Linked DNA regions of Homo sapiens: all the other regions are linked to region 1. The links are contacts of gene promoters, found by promoter capture Hi-C in blood cells and fetal thymus (Javierre and others, 2016). All regions are on one chromosome and are shown on one strand. Each heading gives the region's core, a stretch centred on a gene start or on the middle of the fragment in contact. The rest is flanking DNA. Distances are from core to core; before and after follow the strand shown. Region 1 holds the start of TARBP1 (tRNA guanosine 2 -O-methyltransferase TARBP1). Region 2 overlaps B3GALNT2 (beta-1,3-N-acetylgalactosaminyltransferase 2). Region 3 overlaps B3GALNT2 (beta-1,3-N-acetylgalactosaminyltransferase 2). Region 4 holds the start of TBCE (tubulin folding cofactor E). Region 5 overlaps ARID4B (AT-rich interaction domain 4B). Region 6 overlaps ARID4B (AT-rich interaction domain 4B). Region 7 overlaps ARID4B (AT-rich interaction domain 4B).

Region 1 (4,121 bases), core at 494-2,993:
GGTAATTACCTGGGGGTGAAATCGCTGAATCATAAAGCAGCTATATTATAACTTTACGAGAAACAGTTTCTAAAGTGACTGTACCGTTTTCATGCCCACCAGTAATGTATGAGAATTCCAGTTGCTCCACACCCTTGGTCTTTGCCGTTTAGTGTTTTCGAGCTTTTACATGTTAGCCATTCTCATCAGTATGAAGTGGTACCTCATTGTGGGTTTAATTTGCATTTCTCTGATGACTAATGATGTTGAACACTTTTCCAAGTGCTTATCATTTGTGTATCTTCGTTTGTTAAGTGCTCAAGACATTTACCCATTTATATTTGTTAGATATATGTTGACAGAAACAATAGTTTTCTGCACATTTTATGTTGAAGGTAATTGATATTTACTGACATGTTAAAAGGGCTTAAAATAGAAACATTTATGCATTTTGTCAATGAAAAACGGAATGACTGAAATATGAAAAAAGTCTTGCCTGTGTAATGTCAGATAACCTTAAAGTCAGATAACTTTATATAAAAATAACTGTAAATTTAAATAACTAATTTTTGTCTTATCCATTATGTTATTATATGTCAAGCTCTTTGAAGTTGGGACCCTGTTTTCTCTATTGACTAAGAGGCAGATCTTTGTGTTTAGTAGCGAAGAAAACCCTATGTCACTGATCTAGTTTGTCTCAAATTGAGCCAGGAACCAAATCCACACCATGCATGCCGAGGTGAGGTTTTCTGTTTCTCTATTTAGCAATGGATGCTGTCAGAAATACAGAAAAGACAGACACAGGGACTATTTTTGAGTTTGCACATGGGAGCACATGCATTGTGCAGGAGGCTCTGCATCCTGGAGTCATCTTGGGCACTTGGCTGTGAGGGCTGGCGTGGGCATCTTGGTTTTAGCTGAATCCTAGCACATTGCTATAGGTACCTCTAAGGCAGGAGAATAGGGCCTGGAGGCAGGGAATCCAAAAACTCCCTAGAACCAAATCAGATAGAAACACTTCAGCTATGACAGGAAATATCCTCTTCATTTACATAGGGAGTACACCAAGTAAATAACTTTGTAACTTCATTTTATCCTCTTCAGTTACATAGTGTGTACACCAAGTAACCAATTGAAACCTCTATAGGTATTTAAACCCCAGAAAATTCTGTAACCAGCCCCCCTTGAGCGGCTTGCTTGGGTCTGCCCCCACCCTGTGGAGTGTACTTTTGCAATAAATCTCTGCTTTTGTGGCTTCATTCTGTCTTTGCTTTGTTTGTGCGCTTTGTCCAATTCTTGGACCTGGACACCCTCCACCGGTAACACTTCTCACTCCTGGCCTTACGTCTAAATCATTCTTGTGTTTTCATGACTTATTTTTAATGCAGATGTCCAGAACCAATTTCAGACCTACTGTGTCAGTCTCTTTGTGGATGGTGCCCATCATGCAACGTTTGGAAAATAATCTAAAGTGATTCTGCTGTGCACCTTCTGTGAACTGGTTTATGCTCACAGGCACGCCTGATTTAGGGTCCTGGGCAGACCAACCTCCAATCAGGAATCGATGAAGCTGGTGTAGATACTACATTAACTTTTAACGAAGGCCTCGTTTCTCCTAAAAATAAGAGACCAGGTGGGTTCTATCTAGGCAGGGTTGGTGGCAGGAACCCAAGGGAAGCTGAGCTGCACCAAGCCGGGCTGGGATCCCCCTCTCTGCGGCCGCGCGCCCGGCTCCGTCGGCGCACGCGCACGTAGGGGCCGGCCGGTCCTGTGCGCACGCATCGCACACGCCGGCGCCTTCCTTTGGGAGCCCGGGCCGGTGGCGCGGGCGCTCGGCAAATGGAGTGGGTGCTCGCGGAAGCGCTGCTCTCGCAGAGCCGGGACCCCCGGGCCCTGCTTGGGGCGCTGTGCCAAGGGGAGGCATCCGCGGAGCGCGTGGAGACGCTGCGCTTCCTTCTGCAGCGGCTCGAGGACGAGGAGGCGCGCGGCAGCGGGGGCGCAGGCGCGCTCCCGGAGGCGGCGCGCGAGGTGGCTGCAGGGTACCTCGTGCCACTGCTGCGGAGCCTGCGCGGACGCCCCGCGGGCGGCCCGGACCCCAGTCTGCAGCCTCGCCACCGCCGGCGCGTGCTGAGGGCGGCGGGCGCGGCCCTGCGCTCGTGCGTCCGCCTGGCCGGGCGTCCGCAGCTGGCGGCCGCGCTGGCTGAGGAGGCGCTGCGCGATCTGCTCGCCGGGTGGCGCGCGCCTGGCGCCGAGGCTGCCGTGGAAGTGCTAGCAGCCGTCGGGCCATGTTTGCGGCCCCGCGAGGACGGGCCGCTACTGGAGCGCGTGGCGGGGACCGCCGTCGCCCTGGCGCTGGGCGGGGGCGGGGACGGGGATGAGGCCGGGCCTGCCGAGGACGCGGCGGCGCTGGTGGCCGGGCGACTGCTGCCAGTGCTGGTCCAATGTGGCGGGGCGGCGCTGCGGGCCGTGTGGGGCGGGCTGGCCGCGCCTGGGGCGTCCCTGGGGTCCGGCCGCGTAGAGGAGAAGCTGCTGGTCCTGAGCGCCCTGGCCGAGAAGCTGTTGCCCGAGCCCGGCGGCGACCGCGCCCGCGGCGCGCGCGAGGCGGGCCCGGACGCCCGGCGCTGCTGGCGCTTCTGGAGGACGGTGCAGGCGGGGCTGGGCCAGGCGGACGCCCTGACGCGCAAGCGAGCGCGCTACCTGCTGCAGAGGGCGGTGGAGGTGTCGGCGGAGCTGGGGGCCGACTGCACCTGCGGGCCCCAGGAAGGAAACGGTACCTGCCTCTTTGCCCCCCAGCCTAGTGCTACCTACTTGGCTGCCCCAGAGGGGAGTCTTCCTGCTTCTAAAAACTAGCTTATCGGGGTCGTCACTCCGATCCATGCAGAATTTGGTTATTCCGCGTTGCTCCCCTAAAGCCTGAAAACCTTTGGAACCCCTTCTCGAGGGTGTTCTTTGAAGTCACAAATCACTGCGGTTGGGAACGTTCTAACCCAGAGCCGGTGGAATACAGCACCCCTGGAATAGTTTAGGAAGATAATGGAGCCCGTGCAAGATTTTACAGACCCAAATCTGCACTATATCATGGTAGATTCAACCCAATAGAAACGGTTGATATCTATCAAGTTGAAAGAAAAATTATTTGTTATTTATCTGTACTGACCAGTGAATTAGTGAATTGAGTGTTGAGTGTTAGAATTAAGCGTCATAGAGGCCATCACACTCTTCTGAAATTTCCCCTGGTAATTAGGAACAGGATTTACTAATATTTGTTAAACATGTTTCTTAAGTCGACCTTTTGAGTGTATTTTTGCCATTGATTTAATAGAATGAATCAGATTTTATTTTTTAACTGTTTGAGCTTTGCTCCCTACTATGTGCAAGAGTAATGAAACAGCAAGGCCTCCCTTCAAGTTGTTACGTTACTGTTGATTGGTTTGACTTCACTCATGTTAAATTTGGGTTTAAACTGTCAAGTACAAAGTAGATTGACTCAAAATTGTCTCAATAGAATATTTCTACTTTTTCAACGGTAGCTGACCATTTATTACAGGTAAAGGATTTTTGTTTGGCTGAAGTTATGAGGTTATATTTTCAAGTAATTTTAAAACATTAGAGAGTAAATATTTGAACAGTCCACAGATAGGTGTGATCATCCCTGAGAGTTTTCACTGGAAAACATTTTTTAAATCATCAAAAATTAAAACATTCATTTATTTACATGAGTCTGTTATTTTGCAGTTTTGTTTGTTTGTTTGTTTGTTTTATGGAGTTTCGGTCTTGTTGCCCAGGCTGGAATGCAATGGCACAATCTCCGCTCACCGCAACCTGCACTTCCCGGGTTCAAGCGGTTCTCCTGCCTCAGCCTCCAGAGTAGCTGGGATTACAGGCATGCGCCACCATGCCCCACTAATTTTGTATTTTTAATAGAGACGGGGTTTCACCGTGTTGGTCAGGCTGGCCTCAAACTCCTCACCTCAGGTGATCTGCCCGCCTTGGCCTCCCAAAGCGCTGGGATTACAGGCGTGAGCCACCGCGCTCGGCCAGTTATTTTGCAGTTTTAGGGATAAGCAATGGTGCTTCCATGCTTCCTGCAACTCCCATTTCCTCTGTTACAGAAAGCAAATCCTGTGGCCTCTTAACGGAAT
Region 2 (4,121 bases), core at 662-3,161, 990 kb before region 1:
TCAAAAAAAAAAAAAAAAAAAAAAATATATATATATATATATATATATATATATATATATATGTCTCTAATTTTATGTTGTCCTTAATGGTACAGTTGGAACCTGTAACTAATTTCAGTAAAAAGCAGACTATTTTTGTTCACCTAAGTCACTAGCGACGTTATTGTTAGCATTATGGACGCTTACATCCTTAGACAGAATTTCACTCCTGTTGCCCAGGCTGGAGTGCAATGGCTCAATCTTGGCTCACTGCAACCTCCACCTCCCAGGTTCAAATGATTCTCCTGCCTCAGCCTCCTGAATAGCTGGGATTACGAGTGCCTGCCACCACACCTGGCTAATTTTTTTTATTTTTAATACAGACAGGGTTTCACCATGTTGGCCAGGCTGGTTTTGAACTCCTGACCTCAGGTGATCCACCCACCTCGGCCTCCCAAAGTGCTGGGATTACAGGTGTGAGCCACCGTGCCCAGCCTATATCCTTATTTTTTGTGAAGGTTGAAATTCTTTATATATAGTCATTTCTCCAATCCACAAGAAGTTGTTAATGTTTATAGGCACAGAAGTACTGTATATATTTAAGCTACTCTGTTGTTTGGATGAGAAATTAGAAGCTTTATGGAAAAGAGTTGATGCGTGAAAGGAGTTACAGACAGCTTGCTTATGTTATGGGAGAGATAGATATGATATCTCATTTTTCCAACCTGTATCATGCTATTTTTTCCCAACTTTTATTTTGGTTTTTATGATCTTAGTAAGGGAATTGCCATAAACAAGTTGTTTTGGATCTTAAGAGATACCTGGCTTCATAATTGCCTTACATCAGAATAAAAAGTAGGTGTATGAGAGCAGAGGTGAGGAATAGAAATTAAACTGTGTTGTGGAGCAGAAACAGGTTTAGGAGATAGGTGGAAGATAAAGCTTCTTCCTTGCTTAGTAACAAAACAGCTGATGGGTTATTTAAGTTCCATGAGTAAGTCAAGATGATTTGGGAGGACTAGGGAATTTTTCTGGTAACACATTCAATTATTCATTGAATTTGTTTGTTGTATCATAGCCTAGTCACAGACAAAATGGAGTTGGGTGCCAGGAAGGACCCACTGTGAAATAGCATGTCACATGTCATGTCAATTGAATGGACAGTACAGAGAATTACTCGTTTTATCATCATCTTTTCTAGATTTGTAGTTTCAAGGTGAGGATTTTTATCTGGTCACTATAGTTTTTACTTTTGGTATGATTCATTATTTCCTTTTTGCTTTCCTCTTAAATATTAATCATTAGGATTTGCTACCTAGCCTTCTGTTTTATTTTACTCATTCTTCCCAGGCAATTTCATTCATTACTGCCTGTATGCTGAAGGCTGTTAAATCTATAATTACAGCCCCAGCATCTCTTGTGAACTCCAGACATGCTTTGAGTTGCCTCCTGAACTTCTCCACTTGAATGTCCCATGGGCATTCTAATGGTAACATTGTCTCCATCCCATCTGTTCTCATCGCCTGTATTTTTAATCTTGGGTAACCATCTCCTTTTCCTCAAGTCACCTAAACCAGAATCATGAGAGTTATCGTCACTCTCATGTCCAGGTACTCACCAAGTCCTATCAGTTCCTTATCCTAAGTATATATGCTATCAATCCTTCCAAACTCTATCACTATTAAAGTTTTAGAAGAAAATACATTAGCTGAATACAGAGCGATAAACTGCCTGAGGAATCCGGACTCTTGGAATATTTTTATCTGTTTTGGAGGAGGAAAAAAATATTATTTATTTTAAAAAAGGAAAGAAAGGAAGGGAAAGGTTGGGCGGTGGCTCACGCCCGTAATCCTAGCACTTTGGGAGGCTGAGGCAGGCAGATCACTAGGTCAGGAGTTCAAGACCAGCCTGGCCAACATGGTGAAACCCCATCTCTACTGAAAATACAAAAATTAGCTAGGCATGGTGGCACATTCCTGTAATCCCAGCTACTTGGGAGGCTGAGGCAGGAGAATCACTTGAACCAGGACCTGGGAGGTGGGGTTTGCAGTGAGCAGAGATCACGCCACTGCACTCCAGCCTGGGCTACAGAGTGAGACTCCGTCTCAAAAAAATAAAAATAAAAAAAAAGAAAAAGTTTATATCACTCTGTGCAGAGGGAAAAAAATGTTTATAAACCACTGACCTAGCTTATCAAATTGAATTTTGTATGGTTTCCCTATACTGCTGGCTAAAATGAGACATTATTGTAAAGTACTTTATCCCTTCATTTTAACATGAAAGTTTTTAGAGTATTAGAGGTATATCTTTCATTTAATCCTCTATACTATAGTCAATTCTGGTTGATTTTTAGTTCAACATTATTTATTCAGCAAACATTTTGAGTTGTCAGTCATGTCAGGCCAGGCTCGATGCTGGGGATGCAGTGGTTGATCAGGCAAGCTCCTTCCTGTTCTCAAGGTGTTTGTCTTCTAGTAGAGGCAGTTAGTTTAATAATAAAATAAAATAAGAAATATCAGAGTGATAAATGGTATTAATAAGATAAAACAGGTTGATGTGATAGAAGTTGGGAGTTGGAGCCTTCTGGAGGACATCTGGAGAAAGCCTCTCGGAGGAGAAGGTAGTGGAGCTGAGACCTGAGCAGGACTAAGGAGCCAGCTGTGCACAGAATTAAAAATGGGATCATGGAGAAATTAGAAGACATTAAGATTTCAATATATATCAGACCTTGGGACAGGGGGGCATAGCTCTCTCAGCTCAGAATTTAATAGTAATAATCACAAAGGAAAAGTTTGTCAGATTTGCCAAGGTGAAATTTATGGACTTCTGAATTTCAAAAATAGCATTAAGTAGCAAATGAAAAACTATTTTAGCATATAAAATGTGCACAGGATTAAGATAATTACTTTATTAAAAGCTTGCATAGATGAACAAGAAAAATAGAAAACTCAGAGGGCAGATGGCAAAGCAGCATGATAAGGCAGTCCTCAGAAGAGAACATGCAATTCATAAACATCACTAGGAATCAGAAATCCAACTAAGCCAATCTTTTTTTTTTTTTTTTAAATTCAGGCAGGGCGCCGTGGCTCATGCCTGTAATCCCAGCACTTTGGGAGGCCAGGGTGGGCAGATCACTTGAGGTCAGGAGTTCCAGACCAGCCTGGCCAACATGGCGAAACCCTGTCTCTACTAAATATCCAAAAATTAACCGGGCGTGATAGTGAGCGCCTGTAATCCCAGCTACGCGGGAGGCTGAAGCAAGAGAATCGCTTAAACCTGGAGAGTGAAGGTTGCAGTGAGCCATGATCGCACCATTGCACTCCAGCCTGGGTGGCAGAGCGAGGCTCTGTGTCAAAAACTGAAAAATAAATCCAACTAAATAAGGAATCATTTTGTAAAAATCTAGTATATTAGGTTAAACTTTTGTTTACTAGTATCCCATACCAGGGAGAATACAGTGCAGTTGTCATTCTCATACATTGCTGATAACCCTATAAATTAGTAAAAGTTGCTTTCAAAAAGCAGTTGGCGGTGTATACCAAAATCCATAAAAATATCTCTTTCTTGTCCCAGTAATTTCACTCTGGGAATGTAAGTACAAAACAAATTGTTAGGAGTAAATAAACATGTACACCAAAACATGCCTACATTATTTTAGTAGATACTTAGTAGATATTTTAGTAGACATTTAGTAGCAACCAAATGTCTAATAGTAGGGGAAAATGAGTAAATCAGGGTGTATCTGCTCATTGGGATGTTATACACACATGAGGAAGAATGGCTGTGACAGCTGCAACAACATAAGGAAATGCTTTTGATACAATGGGAAATGGCAAACAGCAGTATGCAAAATTGTGTATATACTCTTTGTAATTGGTTTTTTATATGTGCATGGAAAAAACGGTCAAGGATACACACCAAACGCTAACAGTGGTATGTCAGAGTTATGGGGTGAAAATTTTAAATGATACGTTTTGGGAAAAATTTTCTCTAAAAATCTTGCCTGAAAGCATACTTAAAACCTAAATGACAGCAATAAGGAAATTGACTCACTATTCATCTTTCTACAAAAGAGCTTTGAAGGTACAATCGTGTGGGAGAGCCAAGACCTCCACGGCCTTGTGTCAAGAAATCTCCACAAA
Region 3 (4,121 bases), core at 888-3,387, 970 kb before region 1:
CGGGGCAAGGTTCAGGCGTTTAATAGATTTGGCAGCAGGAGTTGAATGATGCCTAAGAAGCATTTGTTTGAACATATGTTCCATTTAAGCCAGATATTTTCCTTCAATATGCTCTTTCTTTGCCTTTTAAAATCAGGTTAGTACTTCTCTGTGTTATGCCATTTAGTAAAGACCAAGTGATGGCCTTAGTTGATAGCAGCAAAATTTTGTTAGAGCAAATGTTCTCAACATTTGAGGAATAAGAAATTTAGATAATGACAGGTACAGTTTTGAATGAAAGTGTTAGTGACGCCACTGCATTGGTGTTTGTTTGTTTGGTCGCACTGACTTTCTTATCCCTTTTGTGTCAACAGGACTGTGGAAACAACGAGCTTCAATTTGTTGCTGAAGACAGATGATGACTGTTACATAGACCTCGAAGCTGTATTTAATAGGATTGTCCAAAAGAATCTGGATGGGCCTAATTTTTGGTGGGGAAAGTAAGTTAACCATTCTTAGCCCATTGGCATTCGTGTACCTGATCAAATGTAATTAATAAAGCATAAAATATCTTTTTTTTTTGAAAATGTGGTTGAGATATACAATTTCGTACTAGACTCCTGGGTTTATATATATTTCATTACTCTAGGTCAGTCATGCTGGCTCACATCTGTCATCCCAGAGTTTTGGGAAGGCTGAGGTGGGAGGATCCTTTGAGGCCAAGAGTTCAAAACTAGCCTGGGCAACGTTGCAAGACCCTGTCCCTACAAAAAATTAAAAAGGTGATGTGAGCCTGTAGCCCTTAGCTACTTGAGAGGCTGAGGCAGGGAGACTGCTTGAGCCCAGGAGTTGGAGGCTGCAGTGAGCTATGATTTTGCAACTGCACTCCAGCCTGGGCAACAGAGGGAGACCCTGTCTTAATAATAATAATAAATTTTATATTACTGTACAATTGGAGGAAATTATTTTTTAAATGAAAAGCCTCAGGCTAATGTAGTAAAGGAGGGAAAACAATATGGCTTTTATTCTTATGCCAAAGAAATAAATGGTATTCACATTAGAAGCTACTGTATATTTTGTTAGAGTACGTTTGTGACACGTCTCTGAAACCATTTTCTGTGCTTCCTCAGGAATACAATATGGATTAGTGATTTGGTTTTTTGTTTTCATATATACTAAAACACAGGGTGATCTTCTAGTGCTTTTCATTCAGAAACTCTACAAATGCAACTTTGAGAAAATTTAACATAACCAATCTTTTATCTAAAACAACACTGGATAAATGATAATTCCTTTCCTTAGATTAAGAAAATTTTTTTCTGGAAGGGCAGTGGCTCACGCCTGTAATCCCAGCACTTTGGGAGGCTGAGGAGGGTGGATCACCCAAAGTCAGGAGTTCAAGACCAGCCTGGACAACATGGCAAAACCCTGTCTCTACTAAAAATATAAAAAATTAGCTGGTCATGATGGTGTGCGCCTGTAATCCCAGCTACTCGGGAGGCTGAGGCAGGAGAATTGCTTGAACCCAGGAGGCAGAGGTTGCAGTGAGCCGAGATGGCACCACTACACTCCAGCCTGAGCAACAAGAGCAAAACTCCATCTCAAAAAAAAAGAAATTTTCTTATTTTCTTTCCTCACTTCTACAAGCTTATTCCTTTGTAGTGATGATAAAGGAGTCAAGTTTTAATAGTGGCAGGATATGTGTCAGACTAACACAAGAGGCCACATTATTTTTCATCTCAGTTTCAGACTGAATTGGGCAGTTGACCGAACCGGAAAGTGGCAGGAGTTGGAGTACCCGAGCCCCGCTTACCCTGCCTTTGCATGTGGGTCAGGATATGTGATCTCCAAGGACATCGTCAAGTGGCTGGCAAGCAACTCGGGGAGGTTAAAGACCTATCAGGTAATTAAGAATTTCTTAGCTTGGCGTGGTGGCTCTTGCCAGTAATCACAACACTTTGGGAGGCTAAGGCGGGTAGATCACTTGAGCCCAGGAATTCAAGACCAGCCTGGGTAACATAGCAAGACCCCATCTCTATAATAAAAAATAAAATAAAAACAAAAAATTAAGGATTTCCCACCTACGTATACACTCATCACACCAAGTTTCATCTCACTCGGCATCCCATCATGGAAAGCAGAACCCACTTACCTTGGGGAAAAGCACGTTATTCTCTGTATAGGAATCACCTCTCAAAGGTTAAGGATGCACCCCTACATCCCTCAAATCTTGCCTTTAAATTCTATTCCTAAATCTTTTTTGAGCCTACTTATTATGTTTTCAGCTAGTATTTACAGGTGTCATCCCTGGAGGCTGGGCACTGTGGCTCATGCCTGTAATTGTAGCACTTTCGGACGCCAAGGCAGGCAGATCACGTGAGGTTAGGAGTTCAAAACCAGCCTGGCCAACATGGCAAAACCCTATCTCTACTAAAAATACAAAAAATTAGCTGGGCGCACACCTATATTCCCAACTACTTGGGAGGCTGAGGAGGAGAATCATGTGAACCCGGAGGCGGAGTTTGCAGTGAGCTGAGATTGCGCCACTGCATGCCAGCCTGGGCGACAGAGGGACACTCTGTCTCAAAAAAAAAAAAAGTATAGTCCCTGGAGGAATAGAAAGATTTTTATTCCTAAGGAGGAAGCCCTAAGTGCTTCCTGGAAGCTTAAGGTACATGAGAAGGATGGGTCGTCTGCTCGCGGTTTCATCTTATTACCTTGTGGCAGGGGTGCTTCATATTAAAGACCACTAGCTTTGACTTCATGTGAACCCATTTTTGCTATTTCATATTAGAATAATAACAGAGCAAAAAAGTAGAAAGGTGGTTTATGATGGGAGTGGCTATGGTTTTGTCTTTACAAATAAAATAGCATTAAAATTTTTACATTTAAACTTTATGGGCCATGTATAGGGTGAAGATGTAAGCATGGGCATCTGGATGGCTGCCATAGGACCTAAAAGATACCAGGTAAGTCTTTGGGGATGGCCTCAGGGTTCTTAAGAGTTGAGGAGGTGGATTTCTATATACAGGTTGAGTGTTCTTTATCCAAAATGCCTGGGACCAGAAGTATTTAGGATTTCAGATTTTTTTGGATTTTAGAATAATTGCATTATACTTAGAAGTTGCACATTCCAAATCTGAAAATCTGAAATGCTTCAGTGAGCATTTCCTTTGAGTGTCATGTTGGCTCTCAAAAAGTTTTGGGCTGGGCATAGTGGCACATGCCTGTAATCCCAACACTTTGGGAGGCCAAGGTGGGTGTATCACTTGAGCCCAGGAGTTCAAGACCAGCCTGGGCAACATGGTGAAACCCCCCGTCTCTACAAAAACTACAAAAAAATTAGCTGGGCATGGCAGCGCCTGCCTGTGGTCCCAGCTACTCAGGAGGCTAAGGTAGGAGGATCAACTTGAGCCTGGGAGGTCGAGGGTGCAGGGAGCTGTGAATGCACCACTGCACTCCCACCTGGGCAACAGAGTGAGAGAGACCCTGTCTCAAAAAAAAAAAAAAAGTTTTGGATTTTGGAGCATTTTGGATTTCAAATTTTCAGATTTGGAATGCTCAACCTGTAATGTTTATCACACCATGGGCAGAAAGAATGAGGATCTTCTACCATAATAGTTATGCTGTTGCTTTAATTCACAATAATCCACTAGGTTATTTCTCATACAGTATTTTTCTGAGTTTAAAGCAAAAGGTTATAAATCAACGTTCCCCTGCCTACAAAAAAACTCAGTTTCCATAGATTTGATCAGAAATTATTTGCAGCTTTAAAACTTAACAACAGAAGGCCGAGGCGGGCAGATCATGAGGTCAGGAGATGGAGACCATCCTGGCTAACACGGTGAAACCCCATCTCTACTAAAAATACAAAAAAAATTAGCCAGGCATAGTGGCGGGCGCCTGTGGTCCCAGCTACTCAGAAGGCTGAGGCAGGAGAATGGCATGAACCCGGGGGGCAGAGCTTGCAGTGAGCCAAGATCACACCACTGTACTCCAGCCTGGGCGACAGAGCGAGACTCCGTCTCAAAAAAAAAAACTGAACGACAGAATCCACTGATTGAGTGTGGCAGTCTAAGGATCCTTCAACCCTTCTGACCGATAAAAATAAGACACTGCATGAAATATAAGACATCATTTAA
Region 4 (4,121 bases), core at 494-2,993, 890 kb before region 1:
AGACATAAATCTGATTTTTTTTTAAAGGATCAACCGAGATACTGTGATGCAAACAGACTAAAAGAGGAAAGAGCAGAAACTACTGCAGTAATTCAAGTACGAGACAACGTAACTTGAACAAGTGAAGGTGATAACAAGAGCCTGGGAGTGTGGACAGATTTTAAAGGTGGAGAGTCCATAGGATTTGCTGATATATATGGAAGAGATTAATCAGGGATGATACCAAAGATTTTCATCTAGACAAATATTTCAGTAGTGACAATGAATGTAAATCCAATAAACCTGCTAGTCAAAAGGCAGACTGGGCTGGGCACGGTGGCTCACACCTGTAGCCCCAGCACTTTGGGAGGCTGAAGCAGGTGGATCACCTGAAGTCAGGCCTTCAAAACCAGTCTGGCCAACATGGCGAAACCCCATCTCTACTACAAATACAAAAAAAAAAAAATTAGCTGGGCATGGTGGCACACACCTGTCATCCCAACTACTCGGGAGGCTGAGGTGGGAGATATGCTTGAACCTGGGAGGCGTGGTTGCAGTGAGCTGAGATTGGGCCACTGCACACCAGCCTTGGGCGACAGAGCAAGACTCCATATCAAAAAAAAAAAAAAAAAAAAAAAGCAGGCTGTCCACTTAGATTAAAAAAAAAACCCAGAGATATGCTGTTTACAACAGTATATAAAATATGAGCATACAGAAAAGTTAAAACTTAAGAATATGAAAAACGTTTGAAGCAAGTATCAAAACACAGCGGCCGTGGCTAAATTAATGCCAGAGAAAAGAAAAGTCTTCTCTCTTCATCTCTACCTCCACTAACTTTCTCTAACAGTTTGGCAATTTGTTAACCCCGTCTTCCTGCCAGGACTGCTTCTCTGAGGATAAGGCTGTCACACCATCATTTGGATCCACCCACAACTTAGAACAGTCCCCATTTGGTAGTAAACACCAAGTAAAAATAGTTACTTTAGGCCGGGCGCGGTGGCTCACGCCTGTAATCCCAGCAGTTTGGGAGGCCGAGGCGGGTGGATCATCTGAGATCAGGAGTTCGAGAGCAGCCTGGCCAACATGGAGAAACCCTGTCTCTACTAAAAATACAAAAATTAGCCGAGCGTGGTGGCACGCGCCTGTAATCCCAGCTACTCGGGAGGCTGAGGCAGCAGAATCGCTTGAACCCAGGAGGCGGAGGTTGCAGTAAGCCGAGATCAGAGATCCGCGCCACTGCAGTCCAGCCTGGGCGACAGAGCAAGACTGTCTCAAAAGAACAAACAGTTACTTTAAGTGCTCTCCACCTATTTAACGTTATTTCTCTGTCATCACCAATGTTAACTGATTCGGAAGGACGAGGCTGTTCCTCTAAGGTGACACCTTGTAAAAGTCGTTGGTCGCCTGTACCATTTTCACCTCTTCCAAAGTGACATGCCAATTCTCTGAGAGAAGCTTAAAATGCTAGAGATCACGTGCGGCTACTCCTAAATAAGGCCTTCCAGGAGGCGCAGGGTGGCCCCAACCCAGCCGGCTGGACCGCCTCCCAGCGCACGGAGCAGGCAACGCCCGGCTCTGGCAATCTGGGAAGATTCCAGGAAAGGAAGAAAAGGCCAAGAGCACTGCAGGGTGACGCACCGGCCAGGAATGCTCGTTCCGAAAGCTCCCCGAACCTCTGAAGCTCACCTGCCCGCGGAGACTCCAGGTGTTCCCAGCAGCAGCCCCTCCAGCCAACTGCCCAGCAGCGAAGCTTGAGGCTCTGGCCGGAAGTGCTGTAGGAAGTCCCGCCTCCACCGGAGTGAGGTACGGCTGCTGGAGCATAGACGAGAATGTCAGCGACAGTATTGGAGGCCAGAGGAGTGGTCAGCCCACCCAAGCCCCGCCTCTGGGCGGGGGCCCAAGCGATTTCCGAGTGCTGAAACCTGGGATGACAGAGCAGCCCAGGGAAAGCGCGTGTTCCAGTTTACTAGATACCACAGAAGTGAGTTACAAATCCTGTAAGAGGTTCAGTTCCATGCGTATTGAGAGTCTACCACGTAGGCAGCATGCGGTGGTCAAAGAGAAGAATATAGTGTTGATACCGCCAAAACTAAAAAAAAAAAAAAAATTACCTAGTTAAAGCATAAGGCAGAATGAAAGTAAATGCAGTGATAGAAAAAATAATAGAAAAAGCAACTATCCTAGACATGTTAATTTCTGTTGAAACCGCCTTTGCAAAATTTTGACAGTAAGAGAAATCTGACATGGTTTACTCCTATCTTGATTCTAGCCTCACAGACTGGCTGTCTTTGCTCATTCCTGGGCACAGGACAAACTAACTTTGGGAGAAATTTAGTTTATAGTTTAAATGATAATAACCCTTCCCCAAAACTGCCCTTTTAAAACTAAATGAAAGGCCACCAAGTTAGGAGAATGAGAGGGTCCTGAATTCTTCTAAGTTGTAATTGTAGTTAAATGATTACCACCCATTATTCCACAGGTCACAAATTCGCATCTTCCCCAATCATTCCTGCAGATAACATCACTGTTGTAGAACCTAAGATTGGCCTTTTGAGATGTCTTTTCAGGTTTTTGCATTTCTGACAAGTGGATGGCCCCACCCTGACTCATCAACCTGGGGATCCACGAACCAACTCAGTGCAAGAGGACAGCTTCTACTTCTTATGATTTCACCTCTGACCCAACCAGTCAGCACTCCCCATTCCCTGGCCCCGTACCTGTCAAACTATCTGAAAAACCCCCTAACCTCTGAGCCTTTGGTGAGATGGATTTGAGTAACAACTCTGTCTCCCACGTGGCATGGCCAGCCTCGCGTCAATTAAACTTTCTTTACTGCAATGCCATGGTTTCTGTCAATTAATTTTGTTTGTGCAGCAGGCAGAAAGAACCCATTGGTGGATACCACAGACTCCACAACAAGAGCAGTTTGGGTAGAGTGAGTGTTAGCATTCCAAAACCAGACTGAAGTGAGGTGAAGTGGAAAGGAAATTGAGGGAGCAAAGCCAAATGACTCTTCCAAGAAGTGACCTTCTAATTGTCATATTAAATGGACACAAACAGTCAGTATCCTGCTGGATGTCTCTACTGTTTTATACTTTGATAGTTCACTCCTTGAAACTAGAAACTAGATATTACAGTGATTGTTTTTTCTTTGGAAGAGGGGATTAAAAACCACATTGGAAATCTGATAAAAGCTATCTACCTACACACAAATTTTGCGTATGATTTCAAGGACTGATTAATCCTTTGAAGCCCATGAATAGGCCTCAAAGGAATCCATGGATCCCAAACTAAGACTCTCCTCAGCAGGGCACGGTGGCTCACACCTATAATCCCAGCATTTTGGGAGGCCGAGGCAAGCAGATCACTTGAGCTCAAGAGTTCAAAACTAGCCTGGGCAATGTGGCGAAACCCTGTCTCTAAAAAAACACAAAAATTAGCCAGGCGTGGTGGTAGGTGCCTGTAGTCCCAGCTACTCAGGACGTTGAGTTGGGAGAATCTCTTGAGCAGGGGAGACAGAGGTTGCAGTGAGCTGAGATCTCAACACTGCACTCCAACCTGGGCAATAGAGTGAGACCCTGTTTCAAAAAAGAAAAAAAGGCCAGGCGTGGTGGCTCATGCCTGTAATCCGAGTACTTTGGGAAGCTGAGGCGGGTGGATCACAAGGTCAAGAAATTGAGACCATCCTGGCCAACAGGGTGAAGCCCTGTCTCTACTAAAAATACAAAAATTAGCTGGGCATGGTGCTGTGTGCCTGTAATCACAGCTACTTGGGAGGCTAAGGCAGGAGAATCATTTGAACCTGGGAGGCGGAGGTTGCAGTGAGCCGAGATCGCGCCATGCACTCCAGCCTGGTGACACAACTAGACTACGTCTCAAAAAAAAAAAATTAGCTGGGTGGGGTGTGGTGGCACATGCCTGTAAAACCAGCTACTCAAGAGGCTAAGGCAGAAATTGCTTGAACCTAGGAGGCAGAGGCTACAGTAAGCCGAGATCGTGCTGCTTCACTCCAGCCTGGGGGACGGAGCAAGACTCCATCTGAAAATGAATACATAAATAAAGCCCTCACTTTTCCATTAGTTGGTGAGAAAAGAAAAAATAGGCCAGGCGCGGTGGCTGATGCCTGTAATCCCAACACTTTG
Region 5 (4,121 bases), core at 695-3,194, 750 kb before region 1:
GAGTCTCACTCTGTCACCCAGGCTGGAGTGCAGTGGTGCAGTTTCGGCTCACTGCAACCTCTGCCTCCTGGGTTCAAGCTATTCTCCTGCCTCAGCCTCCTGAGTAGCTGGGACTATAGGTGCATGCCACCGCACCCAGCTAATTTTTATATTTTTAATAGAGACGGGGATTCACTGTGTTGTCCAGGCTGGTCTCGAACTCCTGATCTCGTGATCTGCCCGCCTCGAACCCCAAAGTGCTGGGATTATAGGCGTGAGCCATCGCGCCCGGCCTATTGATGTATTTATTGACATTATTTCCTTAGGGTTTGTTCTTGATGGTCTAATTAGGAATTTCCAATACTTCTACTAGTTATGTCTAATGGTTATAGTGATACCTGTTGGATAATACTCAACTTTTGCAGTAGTCTGAGGATTAAAATGGGTTACTTGTATATGGATGGTAAGTGTTAAGAAAATGATTTGTTAATTTTTCTTTAAGAATTATATGACTAGAGAAGCCAGATATTTTATACAGAATTGTATTGGGTATAAATACCTTAAAAAGGTCATCATGTTTTAAGATTTGATGTTTGAATTTTCAAGTTCGGGAAAGGTATTTTTATTTTTAATTATTTTATTTTACTTTATTTCATTTTTTTGGTGAGGGTCTCACTCTTTCACCCAGGCTGGAGTGCAGTGACATGATCATGGCTCACTGCAGCCATGACCCTTTGGGCTCAGGTTATCCTTTCACCTCAATTTCTCTTGAGTAGCTGGGACTACACCTGGCTATTTTTGTATTTTTTGTAGTGATAAGGTTTCACCATGTTGGCCAGGCTGGTCTCGAACTCCTCAGCTCAAGCGATCCAAATGCCCTGGCCTCCCAAAATGCTGAGATTACAGGCGTGAGCCTCTGCACCCAGTCTGAAAAGTTAGCTTCAAAAACAGTATGTAGGCTGGGCGCGGTGGCTCACGCCTGTAATCCCAGCACTTTGGGAGGCCTAGGCAGGTGGGATCATGAGGTCAGGAGTGCAAGACCAGCCTGGCTAACATGGCAAAACTCCGTCTCTACTAAAAATACAAAAATTAGCCAGGCATGGTGGTGGGCGCCTGTAATTCCAGCTACTAGGGAGGCTGAGGCAGGAGAATCGCTTGAACCTGGGAGATGGAGGGTGCCGTGAGCAGAAATAATGCCATTGCACTCCAGCCTGGGTGACAACAACAAGATTCCATCTCAAAACAAAACAAAACAAAACAAAAAAAAATGTAGAACCAACTTTAACAAAATTGGGATAATCAGAGGAATTTGAGCACAGAAATTGAATATTGACTTAATATTAAATTGTTGGGGGGTAAGGAAAATGGGAAAACGTTAGTAAAACGGCACAAACTTTTATTGGTAAGATGAATAAAATGTACAGGATCTGATGTACAGTGTGGTAACTAGTATTCTGGCAGCCTCCCAAGTAGCTAGCACTACAGGTGTGTGCCACCACGCTCGGCAAATTTTTGTAGGGTTTTTTTTTTTTGCCATGTTGCCCAGGCTGGTCTTGAACTCCTGAGTTCAAGTGATCTGCCCACTTTGGCCCCCAAAGTGTTGGGATTACAGTTGTCAGCCACTGTGTCCAACCTTTATTTATTTATTTATTTTATTTTATTTACTTTTTTTTGAGATGGAGTTTCACTCTTGTTGCCCAGGCTGGAGTGCAATGGCGCAATCTCAGCTCACTGCAACCTCCGCCTCCCAGGTTCAAGCGATTCTCCTGCCTCAGCCTCTCGAGTAGCTGGGACTACAGGCATGCACCACCACACCCAGCTAATTTTTATATTTTTAATAGAGATGGGGTTTCACCATGTTGGTCAGGCTGGTCTTGAACTCCTGACCCCAGGTGATCCACTCGCCTCAGCTTCCCAAAGTGCTGGGATTACAGTTGTGAACCACTGCACTCAGCTCAACCTTTATTTTTTAAGAGATGGGATCTTGCTCTGTTGCCTACGCTAGAGTGCAGTGGCACGATCATAGCTCACTGTAACCCTGCCCTGGGTTTTTTCCAGTCAGCTCCCTGCCTCAGACTCCCAAGTAGCTGGGACTACAGGCACATGCCACCACTCCTGGCTAATTCTTTGCTTACTTTTTTAGTTTGTCTGTGGAGACTGGGTCTCGCTATATTACCTATCCTGGTCTTGAACTTTGGCATGAAGCAGTCCTCCCACCTTGACCTCCCAAAGTGTTGGGATTACAGGCATGAATCACCATGGCTGGCCCCAAACATTTTATCATTATATTGCCATAAATCGTTTTTGGCCGGGTGTGGTGGCTCATGCCTATAATCCCAGTACTTTGGGAGACTGAGGTGGGTGGATCAGTTGAGGTTAGGAGTTCAAGACCAACCTGTCCAACATGGTGAAACCCTGTCTCTACTAAAAATACAAAAATTAGCCGGGTGGTAGTGGCATGTGCCTGTAATCCCAGCTACTCGGGAGGTTGAGGCAGAAGAATCGCTTGAGCCTGGGAGGTAGAGGTTGTGGTGAGCCAAGATTGTGCCACTGCACTCCAGTCTGGATGACAGAGTGAGACCCTGTCTCAAAAACAAAACAAAACAAAACAAAAAAAGTTTTCAGTGTTGCATTTGGGCAGGGGACTCTGGTATTTGGGAACACGTTGGTGTTTATAAAATAGCTCTTATGGTAGGATCCTTCTGTAGATGATTACGTATTTTAACATCCTGTCTTGTATGTTATTTCTGACTTGCTACTCTGTGTGCAATCACTTTTATTGTAAACGTCAACATTCCCATATTTTCAGTATCTTTCTGTGATATGTAATCATCTGGATTCTTAATTAATCTCAGTCATATTTTGGGTTTTTTTTCTTCTCTTATAATTAAAAAAAATATATAGTACTTCAGTTCCAAGAAAAGATGTCCATGAAATTACTAGTGACACTGCACCAAAGCCTGATGCTGTTTTAAAGCAAGGTAAGGATAATCTTGGAATAAATTACAAGTACTGTAAAAACTGCTAAAGTGTTTTTGAAGATTAAATTTTTCTTTGCTCTTTAAAATTTTTCTTTAAATTATGTTTTTATGGTTATATTTGGTTCCTTGTGACCTTTATTTTTATAAACCCATGTGTCTTCTGTGTTATAAGTTTCCTTTTCTTTTTTTTTTTTGGAGACAGAGTCTTGCTCTGTCGCCCAGGGTGGAGTGGCGCAATCTCGGCTCACTGCAACCTCTGCCTCCTGGGTTCAAGCAATTCTCTTGCCTCAGCCTCCCGAGTAACTGGGACTACAGGCACACGCCGCCATGCCCGGCTAATTTTTTGTTATTTTAATAGAGCTGGGGTTTCACCGTGTTGCCCAGGCCGGTCTCGAACTCCTGAGCTCAGGCAGTCCACCTGCCTCAGCCTCCCGAAGTGCTAGGATTACAGGTGTGAGCCACTGCGCCCAACCATAGGTTTCCTTTTTTTTTCTGGTTTTTTTTTTTTTTTTTTTTTTAGCTTATAGTCAGGCATAATAATCTAGAATAATGGGAGAGAACTGTGTAGTCAGCTGTTACTATAATCTAGCTTTTGCCTGGTAAATAAAATATTAGTTTCTGGGAATGGTAGAAGAAAGGAATCAAAGTAACTTTGTGTTGTTGTTTTTTTTGTTTTGTTTTGTTTTGTTTTGTTTTGTTTTTTTGAGATGGAGTCTTGCTCTGTCGCCCAGGTTGCAGTGCAGTGGTACAATCTCGGTGCACCCTCCACCTCCCGGGTTCAAGCGATTGTCCTGCCTCAGTCTCCCAAGTAGCTGGGACTATAGGGGCCCACCACTATGCCCGGCTAATTTTTGTGTTTTTAGTAGAGACAGAGTTTCACCATTGACCAGGCTGGTATCAAACTCCTGAGCTCAGGCAGTCCACCCGCCTTGGCCTCCTAAGTGCTGGGATTACAGGCATAAGCCATCACGCCTGACTGAGGAATCAAAGTAATTTTGGTTTGGTATTTCTCACTAATGAATGTACATCCTTAACCACAAGGCTCCAGTAGTTTTATTTGAGGAATATGTGGTAATTGCATCTGTCACTTGATTTTTGGCACTGTAAATAGTTGTCTTCTCTTTGCCCTTATTCCTTGAATTCAGTAATATGCTATGTAGA
Region 6 (4,121 bases), core at 747-3,246, 720 kb before region 1:
CCCAAAGTGCTAGGATTACAGGCATAAGCCACCGGGCCTGGCCTATTTTAATTTTTTATGAAATTCAAGATATGTGAACTTGAGCTAAAATTTCCCATTTTCTATCTGCATTGACTATTTTCTTATCTATTATGTCTAAGGTAAATTTGGTGTTGTCTCTTTTTAATATATACTAAATGTACTGTATTTTTAAAAGTCTAAATTTATAAAGAAGAAGTAGGATTAACTGTAGCTTTTTGTTGTAGTTCTGAAGTAAATTCTTCTTTGAAGCCTGTGCTTCTTTGGTAAGGAATGAGAAATCTTGACCCACTAATATTGCTTTCTTAAATTAATTGGCACCAGTAATTATGCCAGTCTAAGACGTTCTTTCTTATATAATTTTAATGTCTGTAGGAAATATGGGGTTTTCATGTAGAGTTTTTCCCCGCATGAATTTTATTTTTTTGAGATGAGTCTTGCTCTGTCACCCAGGCTAGGGTACCGTGGCATGCGATCTCGGCTCACTGCAACCTCCGCCTCTCGGGTTCAAGCTCTTCTCCTGCCTCAGCATCCCAAGTAGCTAGGACTACAGGCGCCCGCTACCACGCCTGGCTGATTTTTGTATTTTCAGTAGAGACACGGTTTCACCATGTTGGCCAGGCTGGTCTCGAACTCCTGACCTCATGATCTGCCCACCTCTGCCTCGGCCTCCCAAAGTGCTGGGATTACAGGCATGAGCCACTGCGCCCGGCCTAATTTTTATCTTTTTGTTAGAGACGGAGTTTCACCACGTTGGCCAGGCTGGTCTCGAACTCCTGGCCTCGGGTGATCTGCCTGTCTGGGCCTCCCATAGTTCTGGGATTACAGGTGTGAGCCACCGTGCCCGGCCTCCCCACATGAATTTGCTTTTTTTTTTTTTTTTCCCTATTCTTTGAAAATATCCTGTAGAGAAAATAGAAGGAACACTTGGGTAGTATTGTAATGGGTAATTACATATACGGAAGGAACATTTCTTATTTTTAAAAGCAATGATCAGTTATAGTTATTTAATCTTCTGACCATCTTTATTTTTCTTGTAAGATCTATCAGACAACTAAAGTGCTATTTAACGTCTCATTAGGTTTTGAAATACTTGTCTGCCAATATGTTTGTGTCAGTGATCTCAGCTTGTATTTGGTAAGGACATTTGTAATTCGAAAAAGCTTCCCCAACCAAAATTCTCACATGTTATTTTCTCCTTTTCTTCCTCTTCACGCCACTGGTCTCTCACTCTTCACTAAACTTACTCTGAATAGGGCCTGGAATGCCCCCTACCGTTATTTTCGTGTTAGAATCTTTTCCCGGGCAGTCCATTTCCTTCTCTTCTCTAATTCTCCACAGGAGTGCTTTTTGGCAAGCACTGTCTTTCACTTTCATTGTTGGAATTTCTTAACTTGTGAAATAAAGGCCCTGATAAATTTTTAAGATATGCTCTAGTTCTAAAAGTTATTAGTTTTGATAACAGTAACAATATTGTGTAACTGTGTTTTATACAAAGAGCATAATTGGCAAGGTAAAAAAAAATGCAAAAACTTAGTGTCAAAACAAGGGCCTGAATTAAACAAATAAAAGCACTGAGAAAGTAGAATAGAAAGAAGCCAAATAACAGAAGAGTCATAATATTAGCTAATATTTATAGATCTGTTAAGTTAGATCTATAAATATAATGTAATATTATTATACATTATGTTTGCTGTTAGATTACATTATTACTCTATAGTAAGTTTTCAGGGAATTTCTTAAAACCATACAGAGTATTCCATGAGAATTTTTTTTGTTTTGTTTTTTGAGACGGAGTCTTGTTCTGTCACCCAGGCTGGAGTGCAATGGCGCGATCTCGGCTCACTGCAACCTCCGCCTCCCGGGTTGAAGCGATTCTCCAGCCTCAGCCTCCCGAGTAGCTAGGATTACAGGCATGCGCCATCATGCCTGGCTAATTTTTGTGTTTTTGTAGAGACAGGGTTTCACCATATTGGCCAGGCTGGTCTCGAACTCCTGACCTCAGGTGATCTGTCCACCTCAGCCTTCCAAAGTGCTGGGATTACAGGCGTTAGCCACTGCGCCCGGCCCCATGAGAATTTTAAAACAAAAATTTTCCAGAATAGTAAGGCCATACTGTTAATTACAACTATGTATGTAGTTTGTTTCATCTAATTTAAGAATTTATTTTTGTGTGTGTGTCCTGCCTGCTCCAACACACTTTTGACATCTAAACTCAACTACTTAACATTTTTCTGACATCCAGTCCTCTTGTACCATCCTTCTTTTATAATTGAGTAGAAGAGAACATGATTACCATATAGGATTTACAGAGCTTAGGCAGTGGGCCCCAGCCTGTACCATACCAAGCATCCATCATTTTATTATTTATGTGTATGTTCTTGCCACCTTGTTCTTAAGAGAATTTAAACAACATACATTATATCTGAGTAATAAAGGAATCTTCCTTTATCACAGTGGCCTTACCCATGAGGCAGTAACTGTTTTTCCTTGTTTGATGTGTTTGGTGTTGCATGTAAAATATACAAATGTGCAATATCATGCATGTATTCTTAAATTGAAAACTACTATTTTACCCTACTTCAAAATATAATTGATAATAAAACCCAGGTTGAATTGAGTCAGTTTTTTATTGATAGTAAAACATGTCTGGTATAAAACTAGCTACAGAACAGATAGCCTTTGGTTAAGAAAGGTAGAACATGATTATAACTTTGTTTAGCTCACATTAATGTTATGTGCAGCCATCATGAACTGACTTCAGTTTCTCTCATAAAAAATTAGAAAGCTTGTTTTGTTTTCTTTTAAAAACAAAGTTGATATCTTGACTTCTTCTTTCCATAACTCTTCTAATAGAGCAACTTCTAGGAGTTCATACTGAAATCTACAGAGGATGGAGGTGTTTTCTTTTCGTTTCCCACCATGCCCCCGATTTTGGAAGGAAGTAAATTGCTTTCCTAAGCATTATACAATTTTCGATATTAATAGGAAAGGTAAAAGTACTGCTGCAAATATATGGATAGATGCTACAGTGCCAGGTAGAAGTACCAAAAGGAGTGTATTTAGTAGAAGAATACTTACTTTAAAGCTTTTCAAAGTACTTACCATATATTTGTACTTACACCAGTACTTACCATATATTTCTACAAAAAAACCCATATATGGTATGTACCATTATTTTTTATTTTGTTTTTAAATTGTAGTCTTATTTTATACAGAAATAAACTAAGCCTTAGATTGAGAATGAGTTGATCAGGACCACATAACTAGGAAGCAGGGATTATGTTAAGTCTGTCCTAAAGCTCATTCCATTCCCTCTTATTCTTATTACGGCCCTCAGCATCTTCCAGCATATAAACAGAACCCCTTGCATGGGGATGAATCCTCAGCTTTTCTGGCTTTTACTGGCTACAAGCCAGTAGTTTGTACCAGCAGAGTAACTGCCCAGGAGTTTGCTACAGATACTTTCCAGGCCTATGCTAGAGTAAGAATATAATTTATTAGTCAAGTAATGACTCAAGTCATTTACTTCTTGATTTGGGGACTTTGTTACTTCCTTTTAATACCTCTAACAATGAGGACATTTTAATTTAAAAGCTCGTTTTCAGGTGTCCATGTTCTAGAGTTTTGTGTTTTCTATGAGTAATGTATATAACTTTGAACACAAAAAGAGAATGTCAATTAGTTTTTAATGTTTACTTCTTCTAGCTGTTATAATTCTTGAATGAATGAAGAACGAATAAACTGTCATTCTTTTTTTTTTGCTTTAAACAAATAGTTTTATTGCAGTTAATAGTAATTTGCACCCTATGAAATTGTGAAGACCATCAGCATTGAATCAAGAGGCCATCACAGCTGTTGACTCAGCTGTCTGTACATGTAGGGAGCATTTCAGAATACTGAAAAACTTTGCAGAGTAATGTTTTTCTGGTATTTTATGAGCAAGCATTTTTTTTTTCTAGTTGATTTTGCATTATCCATACGTTACAATATGGTGCTTTTCTTTTCTTATTTCTTTTTTTTTTTTTTTTTTGTGAAACAGAGTCTCGCTCTGTCGCCCAGGCTGGAGTGCAGTGGCGCGATCTCAGCTCACTGCAAGCTCC
Region 7 (4,121 bases), core at 1,054-3,553, 700 kb before region 1:
GTGGTGGGCGCCTGTAGTCCCAGCTGCTCAGGAGGCTGAGGCAGGAGAATGGCGTGAACCCAGGAGGCAGAGCTTGCTGTGAGCCGACATCACGCCACTTACACTTTTAGCTTGGATGACAAAGTGAGACTCAAAAAAAAAAAAAGAAGAATATTAACTTGGAGGTAGCACAATCTGGGATTATATCCTGACTCCACTATTTTCTCAGATATATTATGATAAAAATATTATACTTATATAAACTTGGAGAAGCTTTTTTCTTTTTTATTTCAGCTTTATTAAGGTACAGTTTACATAAAAGTGATGACTTTTATGTTTAAAATGTGATGGGTTTTGACAAAAGTATACAGTGTTACAACCATCACCGTGATCGTAATAGAACATTTCCATCATTGGAAGAGCCTCTTAGCCTCTTTGAAACCCAGTTTCTTTGCATGTTACATAGAGATAAAAGCCAGCAACCTCGGGTGGCTGTATACACAGGACCTAATATATACAGTCCCTGGCACATAGAAGACATTGCTAGTGTTCTTATCATACTCATCATTTTTTTTTCTGTTATTTTCTAGCTTCTGAAAGTTCTGCTGAAGACAGTGAGCAGGAAGATGAGAGAGGTGCTCAAGACATGGATAATAATGGCAAAGAGGAATCTAAGATTGATCATTTGACCAACAACAGAAATGATCTTATTTCAAAGGAGGAACAGAACAGTTCATCTTTGCTAGAAGAAAACAAAGTTCATGCAGATTTGGTAATATCCAAACCAGTGTCAAAATCTCCAGAAAGATTAAGGAAAGATATAGAAGTATTATCCGAAGATACTGATTATGAAGAAGATGAAGTCACAAAAAAGAGAAAGGATGTCAAGAAGGACACAACAGATAAATCTTCAAAACCACAAATAAAACGTGGTAAAAGAAGGTATTGCAATACAGAAGAGTGTCTAAAAACTGGATCACCTGGCAAAAAGGAAGAGAAGGCCAAGAACAAAGAATCACTTTGCATGGAAAACAGTAGCAACAGCTCTTCAGATGAAGATGAAGAAGAAACAAAAGCAAAGATGACACCAACTAAGAAATACAATGGTTTGGAGGAAAAAAGAAAATCTCTACGGACAACTGGTTTCTATTCAGGATTTTCAGAAGTGGCAGAAAAAAGGATTAAACTTTTAAATAACTCTGATGAAAGACTTCAAAACAGCAGGGCCAAAGATCGAAAAGATGTCTGGTCAAGTATTCAGGGACAGTGGCCTAAAAAAACGCTGAAAGAGCTTTTTTCAGACTCTGATACTGAGGCTGCAGCTTCCCCACCGCATCCTGCCCCAGAGGAGGGGGTGGCAGAGGAGTCACTGCAGACTGTGGCTGAAGAGGAGAGTTGTTCACCCAGTGTAGAACTAGAAAAACCACCTCCAGTCAATGTCGATAGTAAACCCATTGAAGAAAAAACAGTAGAGGTCAATGACAGAAAAGCAGAATTTCCAAGTAGTGGCAGTAATTCAGTGCTAAATACCCCTCCTACTACACCTGAATCGCCTTCATCAGTCACTGTAACAGAAGGCAGCCGGCAGCAGTCTTCTGTAACAGTATCAGAACCACTGGCTCCAAACCAAGAAGAGGTTCGAAGTATCAAGAGTGAAACTGATAGCACAATTGAGGTGGATAGTGTTGCTGGGGAGCTCCAAGACCTCCAGTCTGAAGGGAATAGCTCGCCAGCAGGTTTTGATGCCAGTGTGAGCTCAAGCAGTAGTAATCAGCCAGAACCAGAACATCCTGAAAAAGGTGAGAAGGAAAATGTGTATGTTGACTTATTTTAGGGTTTCCCCTCTTAAAGTTTCAATGATTTCACAGTATCTCTTGTTATAACCTGAGGCGATTAAGTGTCATATTTGTGTGAACATGGTAAAAATGGAAATTTTAAAGGTAATTTGAAAATGAATAGTGGAATGCATTTAAAAGCTTGAGAAGGCTTTAATGTGCTTTGCTTGAGCCATCCATGGCATTTTATTGTGGACCAGAACACATGCTAGAAATTGCACCCAGGCCCAAATCCAAACCTGTTTGAGAATTCATTATATGCAGTGGTTGACTATATGGCATGAGCAGCTTAAATCTATTTCTGTAACATTGTTTTTGCAATTGTAATGTGCAGTTTCTCACGAACATTTTGATTTATTGACAGACCCCTCCACCCTTAACCAAATACTGTATGTAGGGGTTTGGAGCAACCAACTGTCCAGGCACTGCTTTCCTCAGACAACCGTGTCAAACTGATTTTCAAGCCTGACTAACTTGTGTGAGTTTGTAAAGGAATTTGATGCTTTCTTAGATGCATAGCTTCCAAATTGAAGGACCAATGTGTACGTTAATAACCTACAGTAATACTTTTTTGATTTTCCGTGAAATTGTTAAAAGTGGAAATTCAAATCGGTACCTTCCCAAAGTATTAGTGCCTTTCGATGGTGCCATAGCCATACTTCTGTCATCATTTTTCTTATAAACCACTTCATTCAGGTATCTTTAAATCAGTATACTCTAGGCTGACACCTGGCTTTGGAACACACTTTTCCATCGTAAAGACAGAGCACTGGAGTATGTTTTTTATATACCGTAAAAGATTTTAGAATGCTAGCTTTAGGTTTTCAGCAAAGCTTAAAGAGATATGGTCTAGATCAAATTAGTTAATTCTATGTTTTCTCAGGAATCTTGACTTAAAACATTTCTGTTTTAAAATAAATTAAAAAAATACTTGCAATTAAATTGAAATGTTCTTTGCTTTTTTTCACATTTACAAGTATAACTACTATGATTTTATCTGTGCCATACTATCTCATGCAACTGAACTATCCAGGCATGACTAATCTTCAAAATGAAAGAATCCTTTATTTCAGAATATTAGGCTTTCAACAGTAAGATTTTACTGGCCAGGTGTGGTCACTCACACCTGTAATCCCAGCAATTTGGGAGGTCTGGGAGGTCAAGGCGGTGGATCGCTTGAGTCCAGGAGTTCAAGACCAGCCTGGACAACATGGCAAAACCCCATCTCTACCAAAAATACAAACGTCAGCCAGCTGTGGTGGCGCATGCCTGTAGTCCCAGCTACCTTGGGGGCTGATGAGGGAGAATCACTTGATCCCGGAAAGGCTGCAGTGAGCCAAGATCACGCCACTGCACTCCAGCCTGGGTGATAAAACAAGACCCTGTCTCAAAAAAAAAAAAAAAAAAAAAAGAAAAAACAAGAAAAGAAAGAAAAAAACAGGTTTTATTGTTATAGGTTTTCTTGGGGGTTTTTTTTTTGAGATGGAGTCTCGCTCTGTTGCCCAGGCTGGAGTGCAGTGGTGTGATCTGGGCTCACTGCAACCTCCGTCTCCTGGGTTCAAGTGATTCCCCTGCCTCAGCCTGCTGAGTAGCTGGGACTACAGGCGTGTGCCACCATGCCCAGCTAATTTTTTGTATTTTTAGTAGAGATGGCATTTCGCCATGTTAGCCAGGATGGTCTCTATCTCTTGACCTCATGATCTGCCTGCCTTGGCCTCCCAAAGTGCTAGGATTACAGGCATGAGCCACCGTGCCTAGCCTATTGTTGTAGTTTTTAAGAGGTTGTATCCTTATTATGTTCGTAATATCTTACAAAAGATTAAAATTAACAACAAAAAAAAAGAGGATATCTTCTCTGCTAATAGACTAAGTCAACACTGCCCTTTTGAATCTTAATCTTGACTAGGTTAATAATTGTGGAATTTGAAAGCTACTCCTAAATTTAGGGTAATTTATATCTCTTTAGAAATAATTGGTGTTTTTCTTTTTGTTGGGTTTTTTTTTTTTTTTTTTTTTTTTTTTTGAGACATAGAGTTTTGCTCTTGTTGCCCAGGCTGGAGTGCAGTGGTGCAATCTTGGTTCACTGCAACCTCCACCTCTCAGGTTCAAGAGATTCTCCTGCCTCAGCCTGCTGAGTATCTGGGATTAACGCCCGGCTAATTTTTGTATTTTGTTTAGTAGAGATGGGGTTTCGCCATGTTGGCCAGGCTGGTCTACGAACTCCTGACCTCAGGTAATCCACCTACCTTGGCCTCCCAAAGTGCTGGAATTACAGGCATGAGCCACCGCGCCCAGCCAGAAATAGGT

Evidence for each region. Contacts are between HindIII fragments. The CHiCAGO score rates a contact against its expected background, and 5 or more counts as called.
Region 2: a contact is called between a fragment that was not itself captured here and the fragment with the promoter of TARBP1 in region 1, in 1 of 17 cell types (activated CD4 T cells). The highest score is 9.0, in activated CD4 T cells.
Region 3: a contact is called between a fragment that was not itself captured here and the fragment with the promoter of TARBP1 in region 1, in 1 of 17 cell types (activated CD4 T cells). The highest score is 7.2, in activated CD4 T cells.
Region 4: the fragment with the promoter of TBCE here is called in contact with the fragment with the promoter of TARBP1 in region 1 in 5 of 17 cell types (neutrophils, total CD4 T cells, naive CD8 T cells and 2 more); the score reaches 7.6 in neutrophils.
Region 5: a fragment that was not itself captured here is called in contact with the fragment with the promoter of TARBP1 in region 1 in 2 of 17 cell types (naive CD4 T cells and naive B cells); the score reaches 7.4 in naive CD4 T cells.
Region 6: a fragment that was not itself captured here is called in contact with the fragment with the promoter of TARBP1 in region 1 in 6 of 17 cell types (erythroblasts, naive B cells, naive CD8 T cells and 3 more); the score reaches 9.3 in erythroblasts.
Region 7: a contact is called between a fragment that was not itself captured here and the fragment with the promoter of TARBP1 in region 1, in 4 of 17 cell types (activated CD4 T cells, erythroblasts, non-activated CD4 T cells and 1 more). The highest score is 10.1, in activated CD4 T cells.

Annotation. Positions count from the first base shown.
Region 1 is chr1:234,476,801-234,480,921 of GRCh38, reverse strand. It overlaps TARBP1 (tRNA guanosine 2 -O-methyltransferase TARBP1), which reads left to right and starts at 1,743. Exons shown (of 30, transcript NM_005646.4): 1 at 1,743-2,749. The coding sequence starts at 1,819. RefSeq lists silencers at 1,627-1,816, 1,847-2,646. The HindIII fragment of the contact is 13,603 bases long and covers 1-4,121 here.
Region 2 is chr1:235,470,892-235,475,012 of GRCh38, reverse strand. It overlaps B3GALNT2 (beta-1,3-N-acetylgalactosaminyltransferase 2), which reads left to right. Exons shown (of 12, transcript NM_152490.5): 6 at 4,053-4,121. Among named protein-coding and RNA genes, the nearest start is that of B3GALNT2, 32 kb to the left of the region's middle. The HindIII fragment of the contact is 1,975 bases long and covers 924-2,898 here.
Region 3 is chr1:235,451,917-235,456,037 of GRCh38, reverse strand. B3GALNT2 (beta-1,3-N-acetylgalactosaminyltransferase 2) reads left to right here. Exons shown (of 12, transcript NM_152490.5): 9 at 354-479; 10 at 1,723-1,882; 11 at 2,892-2,948. It overlaps TBCE (tubulin folding cofactor E), which reads right to left. Exons shown (of 17, transcript NM_003193.5): 17 at 3,595-4,121. Among named protein-coding and RNA genes, the nearest start is that of B3GALNT2, 50 kb to the left of the region's middle. The HindIII fragment of the contact is 1,018 bases long and covers 1,629-2,646 here.
Region 4 is chr1:235,365,049-235,369,169 of GRCh38, reverse strand. TBCE (tubulin folding cofactor E) reads right to left here and starts at 1,743. Exons shown (of 17, transcript NM_003193.5): 1 at 1,666-1,743. It overlaps LOC124904559 (a long non-coding RNA gene), which reads left to right and starts at 1,750. Exons shown (of 2, transcript XR_007066957.1): 1 at 1,750-1,960; 2 at 2,547-2,817. RefSeq lists enhancers at 1,444-1,783, 1,323-2,036. The HindIII fragment of the contact is 3,498 bases long and covers 1,732-4,121 here.
Region 5 is chr1:235,229,952-235,234,072 of GRCh38, reverse strand. ARID4B (AT-rich interaction domain 4B) reads left to right here. Exons shown (of 24, transcript NM_016374.6): 10 at 2,884-2,960. Among named protein-coding and RNA genes, the nearest start is that of MIR4753, 42 kb to the right of the region's middle. The HindIII fragment of the contact is 4,902 bases long and covers 1-4,121 here.
Region 6 is chr1:235,196,784-235,200,904 of GRCh38, reverse strand. The region is part of intron 17 of ARID4B (AT-rich interaction domain 4B); the gene reads left to right. Among named protein-coding and RNA genes, the nearest start is that of MIR4753, 8.7 kb to the right of the region's middle. The HindIII fragment of the contact is 1,625 bases long and covers 1,184-2,808 here.
Region 7 is chr1:235,179,242-235,183,362 of GRCh38, reverse strand. It overlaps ARID4B (AT-rich interaction domain 4B), which reads left to right. Exons shown (of 24, transcript NM_016374.6): 20 at 570-1,778. Among named protein-coding and RNA genes, the nearest start is that of MIR4753, 8.8 kb to the left of the region's middle. The HindIII fragment of the contact is 692 bases long and covers 1,958-2,649 here.